Linked DNA regions of Homo sapiens: region 2 is linked to region 1. Evidence: promoter capture Hi-C in human tissues and cell types (Jung and others, 2019). All regions are on one chromosome and are shown on one strand. Each heading gives the region's core, a stretch centred on a gene start or on the middle of the fragment in contact. The rest is flanking DNA. Distances are from core to core; before and after follow the strand shown.

Region 1 (7,310 bases), core at 1,351-3,850:
CCCCTGGCACAGTAGTCCACAAATGCTAATTGTCTTTCTCTTCTGGTATTTTAAGTATCTAACATTCATTTCAATATTTCTTTTCTTTTTCTTTTTTTTTTTTTTTTGAGAAGGAGTTTCACTCTCGTCTCCCAGGCTGGAATGCAAAGGCGTGATCTCGACTCACTGCAACCTCTCCCTCCTGGGTTCAAGCGACTCTCCTGCCTCAGCCTACCAAGTAGGTGGAACTACAGGCGCTCCACCATGCCCACCTGATTTTTTTTGGATTTTTTTTTTCTTTTTAAGACAAAGTCTCGCACTGTTGCCCAGGCTGGAGTGCAGTGGTGCAATCTCCACTCACTGAAATCTCTGCCTCCCGGGTTCAAGCAATTCTCCTGCCTCAGCCTCCCGAGTAGCTGGGATTACAGGCGCCCACCACCACGCCCGGCTAATTTTTTGTATTATTAGTAGAGACGGGGTTTCACTATGTTGGCCAGGCTGGTCTTGAACTTGTGACCTCGTGATCCATGCGCCTTGGCCTCCCAAAGTGCTGGGATTACAGGCGTGAGCTACCACACCCAGCCTCATTTCAATATTTCTGTGACTTGCTTTGCGCTAGCCTGTGATGCTTTATGTAAATTAAGTAGTAGACATAGTCCCTGTTCTCAGATAAAACAAGTTATTGGTAGCATAATACACTTGCACGCATGAAGCAACTAACAAAAGATCGGTAAACAAGTGGGCTCCATGAAAGTGTGGGACTTGGTTAGGAAAATATACAATGAGGTAATTAAGGCTGCTTTCCTCTTTACCTTAAAGAAACGAAACAAGTAAACAACACTTAATCCACGTATCCTAAAGGGGAAATTTGGGACTGTCTACTTGAATTTTGGAGGTTGCAAGGGCTTTTTATTTTTATTTTTTTCCCTCAGATGGAGTTTCGCTCTTGTTGCCCAGGCTGGAGTGCAATGGCACCATCTCGGCTCACTGCAATCTCCGCCTCCCAGGTTCAAGCGATTCTCCTGCCTCAGTCTCCTGAGTAGCTGGGATTACAGGCGTCCACCACCACGCCTGGCTAATTTTTGTATTTTTAGTAGAGACGGGATTTTGCCATGTTGGCCAGGCTGGTCTCGAACTCCTGACCTCAGGTCATCCGCCCACCTTGGCCTCCCAAAGCGCTGGGATTACAAGCGTTAGCCACCGCGCCCGGCCTTGCATGGGCTTTTGAACAGTCATTTCTGAATTACTTCCTGGATCCCCAGGAGTCCACAAATGTGAAGGAAAGGGAAACCCAAGTAGATCCTTCCGGTAATTTATTCTGCTTTACCCTTTAGGTAAAGGTAAAAACTACTAGATCAAGTAAACTTTGGAATTATTTGTGGACTTTAATCGTCCGTATTTCTGCTGCATTCAATTATCAAATATCAGTCAAGTGTTTTGAGAAACAAATATTCAGTAGCCACAGAAACCTAACAGGCCTATGTTTGCTTTGTTTTATTAACTCCTTGGAGGGACAGAACACTACCAATTACACCCACAAACGTTATCGACATCAACAGAACTGTAAATGACAACACGGCAATATTCTGCACTTTCCCTATGCCTAGGAGCTAATTCCACTTTACATATATTATCTTATTATTTCACACATTAACCCTGGAGGCATGTTTGGAGTTGCCTAATTTTTATGTACACTTTTTGATAAGGAACTAACAAAAATAACTTGCTGAAGGAAGAAAAGGGAGACTAAGTCCAGAACTGAATGAAAAGCACATGGTTTCTTCATCCTCCATCACCAGGCTGTCTAACGAGGCTGAAGAAGTACCATCCATGAGTAAGTGCGTCAAGGGCAAACAAACATCATCGCATATGGACAGTGGTGTGAAATTCGAGAAATCCGAGGAGGGTTAACAACAACAAAAAGCACACCACCACGCCGATCTTCCTCGGGTCCCAGGTTGGCAACTCAACGCCCGGGAGGAATCCCCCCGGAGGCGCGCCGGTCCTACTGGCCTCACTCCCTACCTCCTGGAGGTCCGGAGTCCCGCTCCTTTCCCTCAGCGGTACAATACCCGTGTCGGTCCATTCCCTCACCGTGAGTCGAGGACTAGTTCTCCTGACTAGGCGACCGGCACACACCGCCTGCGACCAGCTCCACAGCAGCGGTCCTGCTACTGCGAAGTAGGCTCAGGTCAACCGGCAGGAAACGACTCAACGCGCAGCCGCCGCGGCCTCCAACCACCGGTGGGCAGAGGGGCGCTAGGCAGTCCTCGATCCGCTCGCCGCGATCCGGCGGAGGAGGAGGAGCAGAGGGAGGCGAGCCGCAGCGCTGCGGCGAGGAGCCCAGGGAGGTAGGTTGTCGTGGGGCTCGGTCCGCCATTCTGGCAATTCCAGTCAAACGGCAAGCCCCGACCCGCTCGGCCCGTCCCTTCCTCTCCTGCCCCTGCAGCCGACAGGAATGGAACAGTCCCGCGGGGGGGATTGTGGGAGGCGCACGCGCGAGGGGTGGAGGGTGGTAGGGGGGGCTGGCGGCGGCGGCGGCGGCCGTGGCGGCGGTTGGTGGCCGTGGGGGCGGGGAAGGGGGGGGAGGAGAGAAGAGGAGGTGGAGGAGGAGGAGGAGGAGGCTTGGGCTTGCGCCGTTGAAGGTACGCGTGAGGGCCTGCGCCGGCGCCGGCTTGACAGGGCCTGAGGGGTAGTGAGGGACTGGACGAGGGGGTTCCTGTGGGTGAGCGCGTACGGGCTGGCTGGCGCGCGGGGCGGCCGAAGGTGGTGGTTGGTGGGAGCAGCCAGCGACGAGCCCGTAGACACTCGTACGCGTGCGGGCGGGCGTGCGCGCTACGCGGACGGAGTCGGGCGGAGCGGGGGACGGTGGGAAAGAACGCAAGGAGGAAGGAGTGGAAGGTTGAGGGGGGCGCTAGGCGCCCTTCGCTCCCTCCCTCTGGAGGAGCTGCCGCCGCCACCGCCGCCACTCTGCTGCTGCCGCCGCCGCCGCCGCCGCTCCCGCCGCCATTTTGGGTTCGCTTTGCGGAGGGGAGACGATCCCAGTCTCGGTTGCGGGACCCGCCTCCCCTCAGTTTGCCCCCTTTAGCCTTCCACCTTTCCCTTCTCCTCTCTCGCATTTCCGCCAGTCAGCTTACCCGCTGGCCGCCTCCTGACAAGCGGGAGGGATCCGCCGTGGACCCAGGGAAGCGGAGGAGCCTGGCGGCCACCCCCTCTTCCCCACTTCCCTGCACTCTCATCGCTCTCGGCCTCGGCCTCGGCCTCCGACACGGTGAGTAGAACGATTTGGGCCGGCATTCGGGCCTAAGCACTCTCTCAGCGATTGAATCCTGGGCTTTCTGGGAGCCACTGTCATCTCCCGGACCTGGATCTCTGAGAGAGCAGTGGTGAAGATGGGGGAGGGGAGAGCAGGGAGGGGGATCCTGAGCCTACCGGGAAGTCCCTCCAGGCGGGGTGAAGGGGTGTCCCTGACAGGCAGACTCCCGGAGGGGGCTGGGAAGTAAGCGAGTGGAGGCGGAGTCGGCTGTGCCCCTGACAGGTTAGTTTGTGTTTGTAGGCATGATCGGAGCCTCCCCCATAGTCCAGTTTGTGTGTGTTTAATTAAGGGATAAGAGTGGTCGAGGACACGATCTTGAGAGGGGATTTTACCTGTGTGACAAGGTCTGTGGTGTCCCTGCCGCGTTGAACGGTATGTGGGAACGACAGGATGATCTCAGTGTTGTAAGTTTAATAAATGTCACTGGTTAGTTTGTACATGGAAAGAGATGTTTTTGGTCTAGCAGACAGATGGTCTGTTGGTGTGTAGCGGCTGTGTTGGTGTGTGTATGTGAGGATGGCAAGTGTTTCCGTAAGAGTTTGCCTTTATTTGTGTAAGTGTAATGGAGTTCCCCTTATAAGTTAGCTTATTTCTTGAATAAATGTTGGGAGGTTCCTTGCAGGTTGATATGTGTGTGTATTTTAGGGATTGGGAGCCCCTAGTTACTTGTTGGGAAAGAGCGGCAATGGTAGTGTTCTGTACAGCATGTGTCTGTGAGGTCAGGGAGGGGAGAAACTTGGCATAGCCAGTTGTGGTCTTAAGAATAGTTTGTGCCTTTGGTTAGAGTGAGTTGTGTAAATGTGAAGGGCCAAAATATCTTTAACAGAATCATTACTACAAAGTTGTAAAGAATGGGTGGCCTTATTTGTTGTCGCGGGTTTATAGTAATAGTTTACAATACAATAAGAAAGCTCTTTCAGTTTTTTTGTGATACTGAATCTCTGTGAAAATGGTAGGATGCTTTCTTCCATTTTACAAAATAGGAAATTTAGGCATAAGGAGAGAACTTCTCCAAGGCCGCATGTTAAATTGGTGACAAAGTTGGAACTGTAACTCCCATATTTTCACTACTACTGCAGCAGTATATTCAGCATACCATGGTGCCTCAGGAAGTCTTTGTCGGCAAATCTGAGTATGCTGGAAAGATAGGAGCACATAAGACTGGTTGGCTTGTATTTGGGGGAGACCGATTGTGTCAGATATGTATGTGGAACGTAGCTGTCCTTGCCGAGTCTGACCTGTATGAAATGCATATCCATGACTATATTATTTTGGATTTATGGAGGAAGCAGAGCATTTCTGACACTTGAGGTTGTATGTGTGAGGGAGAGAAGGCTTTCACAGCTTAACTTGTACCAGAGCAGCTGCATGGGTGCTGACAGCTTAACTTGAAATCTGTGGGAGGAAGGATCCTTTTTCATTCATTCAACAAATATTTGTTGACTGCCTGTTCAATAAATGGTCCATGCCTTGGCGTGAGGATAATCAAGGTGTCTCTGTAAATAGCCTGGGTACAACGTGAGGGGAGTTGTTTTGACAGTGGTGGGTATTAAGTTGAGGGAGGCGGTGTGGAATTAAAACCAGAGAACTGTTTTTGGGTTCTGGTAATTGTTAATACATGTGCCTGTGGATGTTGGAACTTCTTGGCTGGGCTGAAGGAATCCTTTGAAAGACTCATTTCATATAGTAAGAATCCCCTCTATGAATATGAAGAAAGAATGCATAAACTAAGCCACTTAACCGTATTCTTCTGAAAAATGGGATGTTTCTTGATAGGCTAGATGAGTGGTTCTTAAAATTTTTTGGGGTCACTTATCCTTTTGAGAATCTGATGAAAGACACTGGGCCCTCAAGTTAGAAGATGAGCATAAGCACAATCACATGATTTATATATATGATTTTAGGAACTTAAAATGTAATAAAATAGAGCCAATTTATATTTAGGTCTCATTTGAAAACCTTTCATTTTCATTGTTCGGGTGTGTGGATGTTAGTATGAGTTTAAGATGAAAGAGTCTATGGTATTTGAACATGTTGACAGGAGAACTTTAGGGTCCATGTTTTTTATTCTTTTTATCATCTGCAAACTTATTTCTGCAGTATTAGTAAAGGACTCTGAATTTGGTGATAAGGGAATATAATATAGCACAAGTATCTATGGCTTTGTTCTTTGTCAGTATCTTTTTGTTCCTAAACTCTGAGAAGTGGGTTTGTCTTTTTTCAGTTTTGGATTGGGCCTGAGGTGATTTGAAGCTCCTGTCTTGGAGTTTAGCTTAGTTATAACAAACACTGAGTTAATCCTATGCAGGAGACACAAAAATCAATAATATATGGTCTCTGTGCTTGAAGAGATGCTAATTCAGTTGAGTCTGAATTGTTTGATGGTGGCAGCTCTCAAAAGGACAAGGAAGAGGGAAACATTCCTAGAAGTTGAAATTTTGTTACCCAATTGCAAAGAGATTTTTGCCACTACTTACTCTTTGAATAAGCATAAAGTGTTTATACTCTGTATGCAGCTTTGTACTTTAAAAAAATATGTTTTGTATCATCTTGTGCTTTTTTTTTTTTTTTTTGAGACTGAGTTTCACTCTTGTTAACAGGCTGGAGTGCAGTGGCGCTATCTCAATTCACTGCAACCTCTGCCTCCTGGGTTCAAGTGACTCTCCTGCCTCAGCCTCCCGAGTAGCTGGGATTACAGGCATGTGCCACCATGCCCTGCTAATTTTGTATTTTTAGTAGAGACAGCGTTTCTCCATGTTGGTCAGGCTGGTCTGGAACTCCTGACAGATGATCCACCCGCCTCGGCCTCCCAAAGTGCTGAGATTACAGGGGTGAGCCACCGCGCCCGGCCTCATCTGGTGTTTTTGTATAAAGGAACTATTGGTTTGAGAAGAAGGCAAACATTTATATTTCTTACCTTCTTTTGGGATATATTTCTACAGTGCGTTTATGTAAAAAGGTTTTGATGTCGCTGGGCATGGTGGCTCTCACTTGTAATCACTTTGGGATGCTGAAGAGGGTGGCTCACCAGAGGTCAGGAGTTTGAGACCAGCCTGGCCAACGTGGCAAAACCCCGTCTCTACTAAAAGTACAAAAATTAGCCAGGCATGGTGTGTGTGCCGGTAGTCCCAGCCAGTTGGGATGCTGAGGCAGGAGGATCTCTTGAATCCCTGAAGTGGAGGTTGCAGTGAGCCGAGATCCACCACTGTACGCCAGCCTGGACGACAGAGTGACTCTCTCAAAAAAAAAAAAAAAAGAAAAGAAAAAGGGGCCTAGGGCCTGGCATAGTGGGTTATCCCTATGATCCCAGTGCTTTGGGAGGCTGAGCCAGGAGGATCACTTGTGCCCAGGAGTTTGATACCAGCCTGGCCAACATAGGAAGACCCCATTTCTACAGAAAGTTAAAAAATTAGAATGAACACCTGCAGTCCTAGCTACTCTGGAGGCTGAGACAGGGGAATTACTTGACCCAGGAGTTGGAAGCTGCTGTGAGCTATGGTGGTGCTACTGCACTCCAGCCTGGGCAATAGCGTGAAACACTGTCTCTTTAAAAAAAGGAAAAGGATTTTCATGTTCTACTCTTGAGTTATATTGTGAAATAGAATACAGCACATCACTTTTTAAATTTTTTTTTTTGAGAGAGAGTTTCGCTCTTGTTGTCCAGCCTAGAGTGCAACAGCGCGATCTCAGCTCGCTGCAACCTCTGCCTCCTGGGTTCAAGGGATTCTCCTGCCTCAGCCTCCCCAATAGCTGGGATTACAGGTGTGTGCCACCACGCCCGGCTATTTTTTATGTATTTTTAGTAAAGACAGGGTTTTGCCATGTTGGTCAGGCTGGTCTCAAACTCCTGACCTCTGGTGATCCACCCGCCTCGGCCTCCCAAAGTGTTGGGATTACAGGTGTGAGCCACCGCACCTGCACATCACTTCTTAATAACTTGCTAGGTACTGTGTCTTTATAGTATTAGCAATTCCACTTGAGTCTTTATTCTGAGTCTTCCTCCATGCTTTATTAA
Region 2 (7,310 bases), core at 2,440-4,939, 35 kb after region 1:
ATCACGCCACTGCACTCCAGCCTGGGTGACAGGGAGACTCTGTTTCAAAAAAAAAAAGAATTCTTTGGAAAAATGCTGAAATTCTTCATTTATACATATAAATTTTGCAGTTATACATATTAAGACATGGAATTCTTTCATTACAAAAATTGTAATGGGAAAATTTAAAATGTATGCATTTGTGAGTAATGAATATAAAAGCAATTCTTTTTTTTTTTTTCCAAATTGTAAAATGTTGTGGGTTTTTTGTTACATCTGTTTTTTGAGATGGGGGTCTCTCTTTATTGCCCAGACTGGAGTGCAGTGGCACGATTCTAGCTCACTCCAGTGTTGAACACTTGGGCTCAAGTGATCTTCTCATCTCAGCCTCCAGAGTAACTAGGCCTACAGGTGTGTCCCACCACACCCAGCTAATTTTTTAATATTGATTGATTGATTGAGACAGAGTGTCACTCTGTTGGCCAGGCTGGAGTGCCTCTGGAGTAGCTAGGACTACAAGTGTGTCCCACCATACCCAGCTTATTGTTTGATTGCCCGGGCTAGAGTACAGTGCTGTGATCATGGCTCACTGCAGCCTCGACCTCCTAGACTCAGGTGATCCTCCCACCTCAGCCTCCTGGGTAGCTGGGACGATAGGCACGTGCCACCATGCCCAGCTAATTTTTTTGATTTTTTTTTTTCCTTCCCGAGACAGAGTCTTGGTCTGTCACCCAGGCTGGAGTGCAGTGGCACAGTCTTGGCTCACTGCAACCTCCACCTCCTGTGTTCAAACAGTTCTCCTGCCTCAACCTCCTGAGTAGCTGAGATTACAGGAGCGTGCCACCATGCCCAGCTAATTTTTGTATTTTTTTTTTTTTTTAGTAGAGACGGGGTTTCACCATGTTGGCCAGGCTGGTCTCAAACTCCTGACCTCAAGTGATCTGCCTGCCTTGGCCTCCCAAAGTGCTGGGATTACAGGCGTGAGCCACTGAGCCCGGCCTAGAAAGGGGACAATTTGAAGCTCGTAAAATATAACCCACATAAGTCAGGGAATTAATTCTACAAATATTTATTGAACACCTACTATATGCCAGCTAGTGTTCTACGTGCTGGGATATAGCAGTGAACCAAACTGATAAGTCTATTTCCTGGTAGAGTTCAAATTTCAATGGAAAGATGTACACAACAAATATATAGTACACCAGGTGGTAAGAAGAGTATGAGAATAAAATAGGATACTGAATGTGAGTAGAGGGTGGTGGGGGGATAGGTGTTTTTTTTAGGAAATGCTTCTTCTGTAAAATTACGTTTAGACAAAGATACGAAGGAAGTGAAAGAGCAAGATATGCAATTATCTGGGGAAAGGGTGTTCTGTCAAGCGGAATGGTAAGTGCAAAGGTCCCAAGGTAAAGAGTATTTTTGTTGTGTTTGAGAAACAGAAGGGAAACTTCTTTTTTTTTTATTTTTTTTATTTTTTTTTGAGACAGAGTCTTGCTCTGTTACCTAGGCTGGAGTGCAGTGGCGCAATCTCGGCTCACTGCAATCTCCACCAGAAGGGAAACTTTTGTACCTCCTTCTTGGAACTAAGTGAGGAGACTGGTAGGCGATGGAAGAGAGGTAGAGAGGACTTTAGGACAAATTAAATTGGATCTTTAGACCATTTAAAAAATTTTGGCTTCTGCTTTGAGGGAGATAGGAAGCCTACGAAAGGGTTTTGAGCAGAGGAGTGACATGATCTGAATCAGGCTTTGAAAGGATCACCCTGCAACTGAATTGAGAAGACTGGAAGAGATATGAGGGTTGAAGCAAGGAACCAGTTAGAAGCATGTTGCATTTTGCAAGCTATGCATCTGACAAAGGTCTAATGTCAGCATCTGTAAGGAACTTAAGCAAATCTATGAGAAAAAAAATGATTAAAAAGTGGGTAAAGGACATGAACAGACACTTCTCAAAAGAAGACATACATGCAGCCAACAATCATGAGGAAAAGCTCAACATCACTGATCATTCAAGAAATGCAAATCAAAACCACAGTGAGACCATCTCACATCATTCAGAATGGCTATTAAAAAGTCAAAAAAAAAAAAAAAAAGATGCTGGCAAGGTTGCAGAGAGAAAGGAGTGCTTATACACTATTGGTGGGAGTGTAAATTAGTTAAGCCATTGTGGAAGACTGTGGTCATCCCTCAAAGACCTAAAAACAGAAATAACATTTGACTCAGCAGTCCCGTTACTGGGTATATACCCAAAGGAATATAAATCATAAAGACAGATGCATGCGTATCTTCATTGCAGCACTATTCACAATAGCAAAGACATGGGATTAACCTAAATGCCCACCAATGGTAGACTGGATAAAGAAAATGTAGTACATATACATCATGAAATGCTATGGAGCCACAAAAAAAAAATGAGATCATGTACTTGGCAGGATCATGGATGGAGTGGAGGCCATTATCTTTGGCAAACTAGTGCAGGAACAGAAAATCAAATACTGTATGTTCTCACATATAAATGGGAGCTAAATGATGACAACACATGGACACATAGAGGGGAACAACACACACTGGGGCTTATTGGAGGGTGGAGGGTGGGAAGAGGGAGAGAATCAGGAAAAATAACTAATGGGTACTAGGCTTAATACCTGGGTGATGAAATAAACCCCCATGACACAAGTTTACCCACGTAACAAACCTGCACATGTACCCCTGAACTTAGAATAAAAGTTAAATATATTAAAAAATCAATAAATCAATGGACTTTGAGTTAAGCAGATCACCCTCCATAATGTTGGGGAGGAACTTCATCTACTCAACTGAAGGCATTAACAGAACAAAAGATTGACCTCTCCTCAGTAAGAGGCAAGTCTGCCAGCAGAATGAAAACATTGGGTCTTCCTGGGTCTTCAGCCTGCCACTGACCCACCCTGCAGATTTTGGGACTGGCCAGCTTCCATAATCATGTGAGCAATTCCTTTAAATAAACCTCTTTCTTTAAAAAAAAAAAAAGCTATTGCAATAATCCATTCACATATTTATCATCACTTGGATCTAATAGCTGTCAGAGTAATGACAACTGGTTAGATTCTGCATACATTTTGAAGGTAAAGCTGACAAACTTAGCTGACCAAATGGACATGAGGGGTTTGAGAGAAAAAGCAATTAAGGATGGGTAGAGATTTTTGGCCTAAATATTTCTCTTTGGAATTACCATATTTTGAAATGAAACCTGTAGGAAGAATAGATTTGGGGCAGTGGGCAAAGATGAATTGATTTTAAACATGTTAAGTGCCTATCTATTACACAATCCAGTCAGTATGTCAAGTAAGCATTTAGATATGTGAATCTGAAGTTCCAGAAAGAGGTCTCAGCTAGTCTCTATCTGAAGATAGAAATTTGTGAATCATCAATGTTAGATGAAATTTAAAGCCGTAAGACTGGATCTGGTCATTTGGGAACTGAGTGTAGATAGAAAAAGGAAGAGGTCCGGGTACCCTGCGTCACTCCAGTATTTAAAGGTCATGGAGGAAGGAAAGAACCTGCAAAGGAGACAGAGGGTAGTAGCCAGTGAGGAAGAACAATCAAGAGAGGAGTCCCAGAGCTGGGCACGGTGACTCATGCCTGTCATCCCAGCTACTCGGGAGTCTGAGGTCGGAGGATTGCTTGAGGCCAGGACTTGAAGACTAGCCTGGGCAACCTAGTGAGACCCTGTCTCTAAAACAGTGAAAAAAAATTGGACATGGTGGCACATGCCTGTATTTCTAGCTACTTGGAATAGCTACTTGGGGTCTGAGGCAGGAGAATCACTTGAGCCCAGGATTTTGAGGCTGCAGTGAGCTATGATTGTGCCACTGCACTCTGGCCAGGGTGACAGAGAGAGACCTTGACTCAAAAAAAAAAAAAAAAAAAAAAAGGTATCCCGTAAGTCAAGTGAGGTAGCGAGGGAGCTGTTTAGCTGTGCCAAATTCTGTTGATAGGTCAGGTAAGATGAGAGGACTGAGAATTGATCATTCTTCTTAGCAATGTGGAGGTTGTTGGTGACCTTGACTAGCAGTTTCTATGGAGGGGTGGCAGTGAAAGTATAATCAGTATGTTCAAGAGAAAAAGCAAGGATTGGAGGTCAGGGAGAATAGACAATATAGAGAATTCTAACAATTTTGTTGTGAAGAGGAACAGAGAAATGGGAAGATGGTGGAGGATGTGGAGTCAAGAGGAATTTTTTTTTTTCTTTTTTTTTGAGACGGAGTCTCGCTCTGTCACCTAGGCTGGAGTGCAGTGGCACCATCTTGGCTCACTGCAACCTCTGCCTCCCGGGTTCAAGCAATTCTCCTGCCTCAGCCTCCTGAGTAGCTGGGATTACAGGCATGCGCCACCACACCTGGCTAATTTCTTATATTTTTGGTAGAGATGGGGTTTCACCACGTTGGCCAAGCTGGTCTTGAGTATCTGACCTCAAGTGAGGTCTGCCCGCCTTGGCCTCCCAACTGCTGGGATTACAGGCGTGAGCCATCTTGCTCGGCTAAGAGGAATTTTCTTCCATGAGAGATATTATAGTATGTTTTTGTTTTCAGGCTTATTGGCATTATTCAGAGGAAATATGAGAAATGGATGATGTGAGAGAGAAAGGAGATAGTTGCCTAAATGAAGAGGTTGAAAGGAGAGATCGTTTATATATTGTGATAGGAAGGCAGTCAGACTATAGGAACAGACACAGGTAGGAAGGTAGGTAGATATATGGTGGGCACTTGTGGCACTTTTCTGTTTGTTACTGCTTCCTATCTGACTACTGCTGTGATCAGATAGGAAGCAAAATTAGGGACAATGAAGAAAGGGGAGATGGGATGAAATAGTTTTTTAGGAGAGTGGTAGAGGGAATAGATTAGGGAAGTGTATTGGCAGCACCAAGGGCTTACTCGGAGTTAGTGGTCAGGAATATAAAATGAGATCATTGAGTGTTATTGTTTTTCTTAGACTAGCTGTGATGGTACAGAGACAGAAGATGTATAAAATATGATTTGGAAGTATGTTAGTGCTGAAATTAGGATATTTTAGTAAATTTACAGAAAACCACCTATGTGAAATATAAACATATTAAGAAAAAACTTGTGTATAGTTTTCTCATTGTAACACAAGATAAAGTTATGTAAAACAGGAAAAAAGACATTTGCTACATGCCAATCATTGTATTAGAAGTTACAGGAACCTTAAAATTCACTCATTCATTTATTCAGCTATTTATTGGGTACTAAAATTTGTGCTATTCATTGTTTCAGCTGCTGGGGTTACAGTGGTGAGCAAGCCAGAAGAGGTTCCTATCCTCATGAAGCTTATATTTTAATTATACAGTTGGCCTTCCCTATCTGTGATTCCGCACCTGTGGATTCAACCAACTGCGGATGAAAAATATTAGAAAAAATTAAAAATAACAATACAATAATAAAAAATTATACAAAATTTTAAAGTACAGTTTAATAACTATTTATATATCATTTACATTATGTTAGGTATTATAAGTAATCCAGAGATGATTTCAAGTATACAGGAGCATGTGTATAGGCTGTATGCAAATACCATACCATTTTATATAAGTGACTTGAGCATCGTCAGATTTTGGTATCTGAGGGGGTGGGATGGGAGGTGGGAGGACTTAATCTGTTGAGGGGTATAGCTGACAAATACAGAACAAGAAAAAAGTTAATTGCCCTAATTGTGATCTTATATGGATCATAAATATTCAGGGATGGATCAGGTCAGTGCAAGCTTAAATATAGGTCTGAGAACATAGGTCTAGAATCCATTACCCAAATGTTGGTGCCGTAAGTTTTTTTCTTTTTAAAAAAATTCCCTGCAAGTGTTACACGTTTTTCTTTTTTCTTATTTTTCTTCTTCTTCTTTTTTTTTTTTTGGCTTTTAGAAATGTAGATTGGGTGAACTGGCACAGTGGTGTTTGGGAGTAGTAGCATCCTTTACTAACTTAATCAAGCCCATTAATACTTCTGCATTGTAATTTATCATTATTCATGGAAATTAGGGTAATTAAGACTAAAATGGGTCCGTGTCAAGTTTTATCACTAGGTTTTGAAAAAACTTGGATTTCAGAGTTTTTTGGACTTCAGGATTGTGAGCCCATCATGGAGAAGATAGGACTTTGTACTTTTTATTTTTTGTTTTAGAGTTTATTTTTTTAATTTACTTTTTGAGATAGGGTCTCGCTCTGTTGCCCGGGCTGGAGTCCAGTGGCATGAACATGGCTCACTGCAGCCTCGATTTCCTAGGCTCCAGCCATCTTCTTGCCTCATCCTCCCGAGTAGCTGGGACTATAGGTGTGCACCACCATGCTGGGCTAATTTTTTATTTTTTGTAGAGAGAGGGTCTTGCTGTGTTTGCTAGACTGGTCTCAAACTCTTAAGCTCAAGTGATCTTCCTGCCTTAGCCTTCCAAAGTGCCAGTAATACAGGCGTGAGCCACCGTGCCCAGGCAGGATTTGAACTTTTAAAATTATTATTTATTTTTAAAAAAACATTTGGGTTATTTTAATTACTTTTTATACACAGCATTTTATTATTTATTTTTTCTCCCTTCCCTAATTATGTATTTGTTTTTTTGAGACAGGGTCTTGTTCTGTTGCCCAAGCTAGAGTGTAGTGGTACAATCACGGCTCAGTGTAACCTCAACTTCCTGGGCTCAAACCATCTTCCCACCTCGGCCTCTTGAGTGGCTGGGATTATAGGCACATGACACCACACACCTGGCTAATTTTTTATTTTTTATTTTTGTAGAGATGAGGTCTCACTGTGTTGTCCATACTGGCTTTGAACTCCTGGGCTAAAGCGATCCTCCCACTTTAGTCTCCCAAAGTGCTGGGATTGTAGGTGCGAGCTACTGTGCACAGCTAACTTTGTACTTTTTTTTTTTTTTTTTTTGAGACGGAGTCTTGCTTTGTTGCCCAGGCTGGAGTGCAGTGGCACAATCTCGGCTCACTGCAAGCTCTGCCTCCCAGATTCACGCCATTCTCCTGCCTCAGCCTTCCGAGTAGCTAGGACTACAGGCACCCGCCACCACGCCTGGCTAATTTTTGTATTTTTTTTTAAAAGATGGGGTTTCACCGAGTTAGCTAGGATGGTCTCGATCTCCTGACCTCCTGATCCGCCCCGTCAGCCTCCCAAAGTGCTGGGATTATAGGCATGAGCCACCATGCTCAGCCTACTTTGTATGTTTAAAGGGAGAGTGTGTATGTTTATATGACACATAAGCAGAAATGAACATGATTTGTTAGGGACAGTAAAGAAAACTGAATTGACTAAATGATAGTGGGTGTGTGTTGGGAAGTAA

Evidence for each region. The method cuts DNA at HindIII sites, captures the fragments that hold promoters and counts their contacts. A contact is called where the count stands out against the background at its distance.
Region 2: a contact is called between a fragment that was not itself captured here and the fragment with the promoter of ASH1L in region 1, in 6 of the 25 tissues and cell types used here (H1 embryonic stem cells, IMR-90 fibroblasts, aorta and 3 more).

Annotation. Positions count from the first base shown.
Region 1 is chr1:155,558,093-155,565,402 of GRCh38, reverse strand. It overlaps ASH1L (ASH1 like histone lysine methyltransferase), which reads left to right and starts at 2,600. Exons shown (of 28, transcript NM_018489.3): 1 at 2,600-3,250. It overlaps ASH1L-AS1 (ASH1L antisense RNA 1), which reads right to left and starts at 3,361. Exons shown (of 2, transcript NR_147964.1): 1 at 3,117-3,361; 2 at 1,459-2,153. It also overlaps a transcript of MSTO1 not described here. RefSeq lists silencers at 1,091-1,385, 2,470-2,609, 2,660-2,809, 4,531-4,825 and an enhancer at 2,014-2,581. The HindIII fragment of the contact is 36,648 bases long and covers 1-7,310 here.
Region 2 is chr1:155,524,113-155,531,422 of GRCh38, reverse strand. The region is part of intron 1 of ASH1L (ASH1 like histone lysine methyltransferase); the gene reads left to right. Among named protein-coding and RNA genes, the nearest start is that of ASH1L-AS1, 34 kb to the left of the region's middle. RefSeq lists an enhancer at 744-1,245. The HindIII fragment of the contact is 7,904 bases long and covers 1-7,310 here.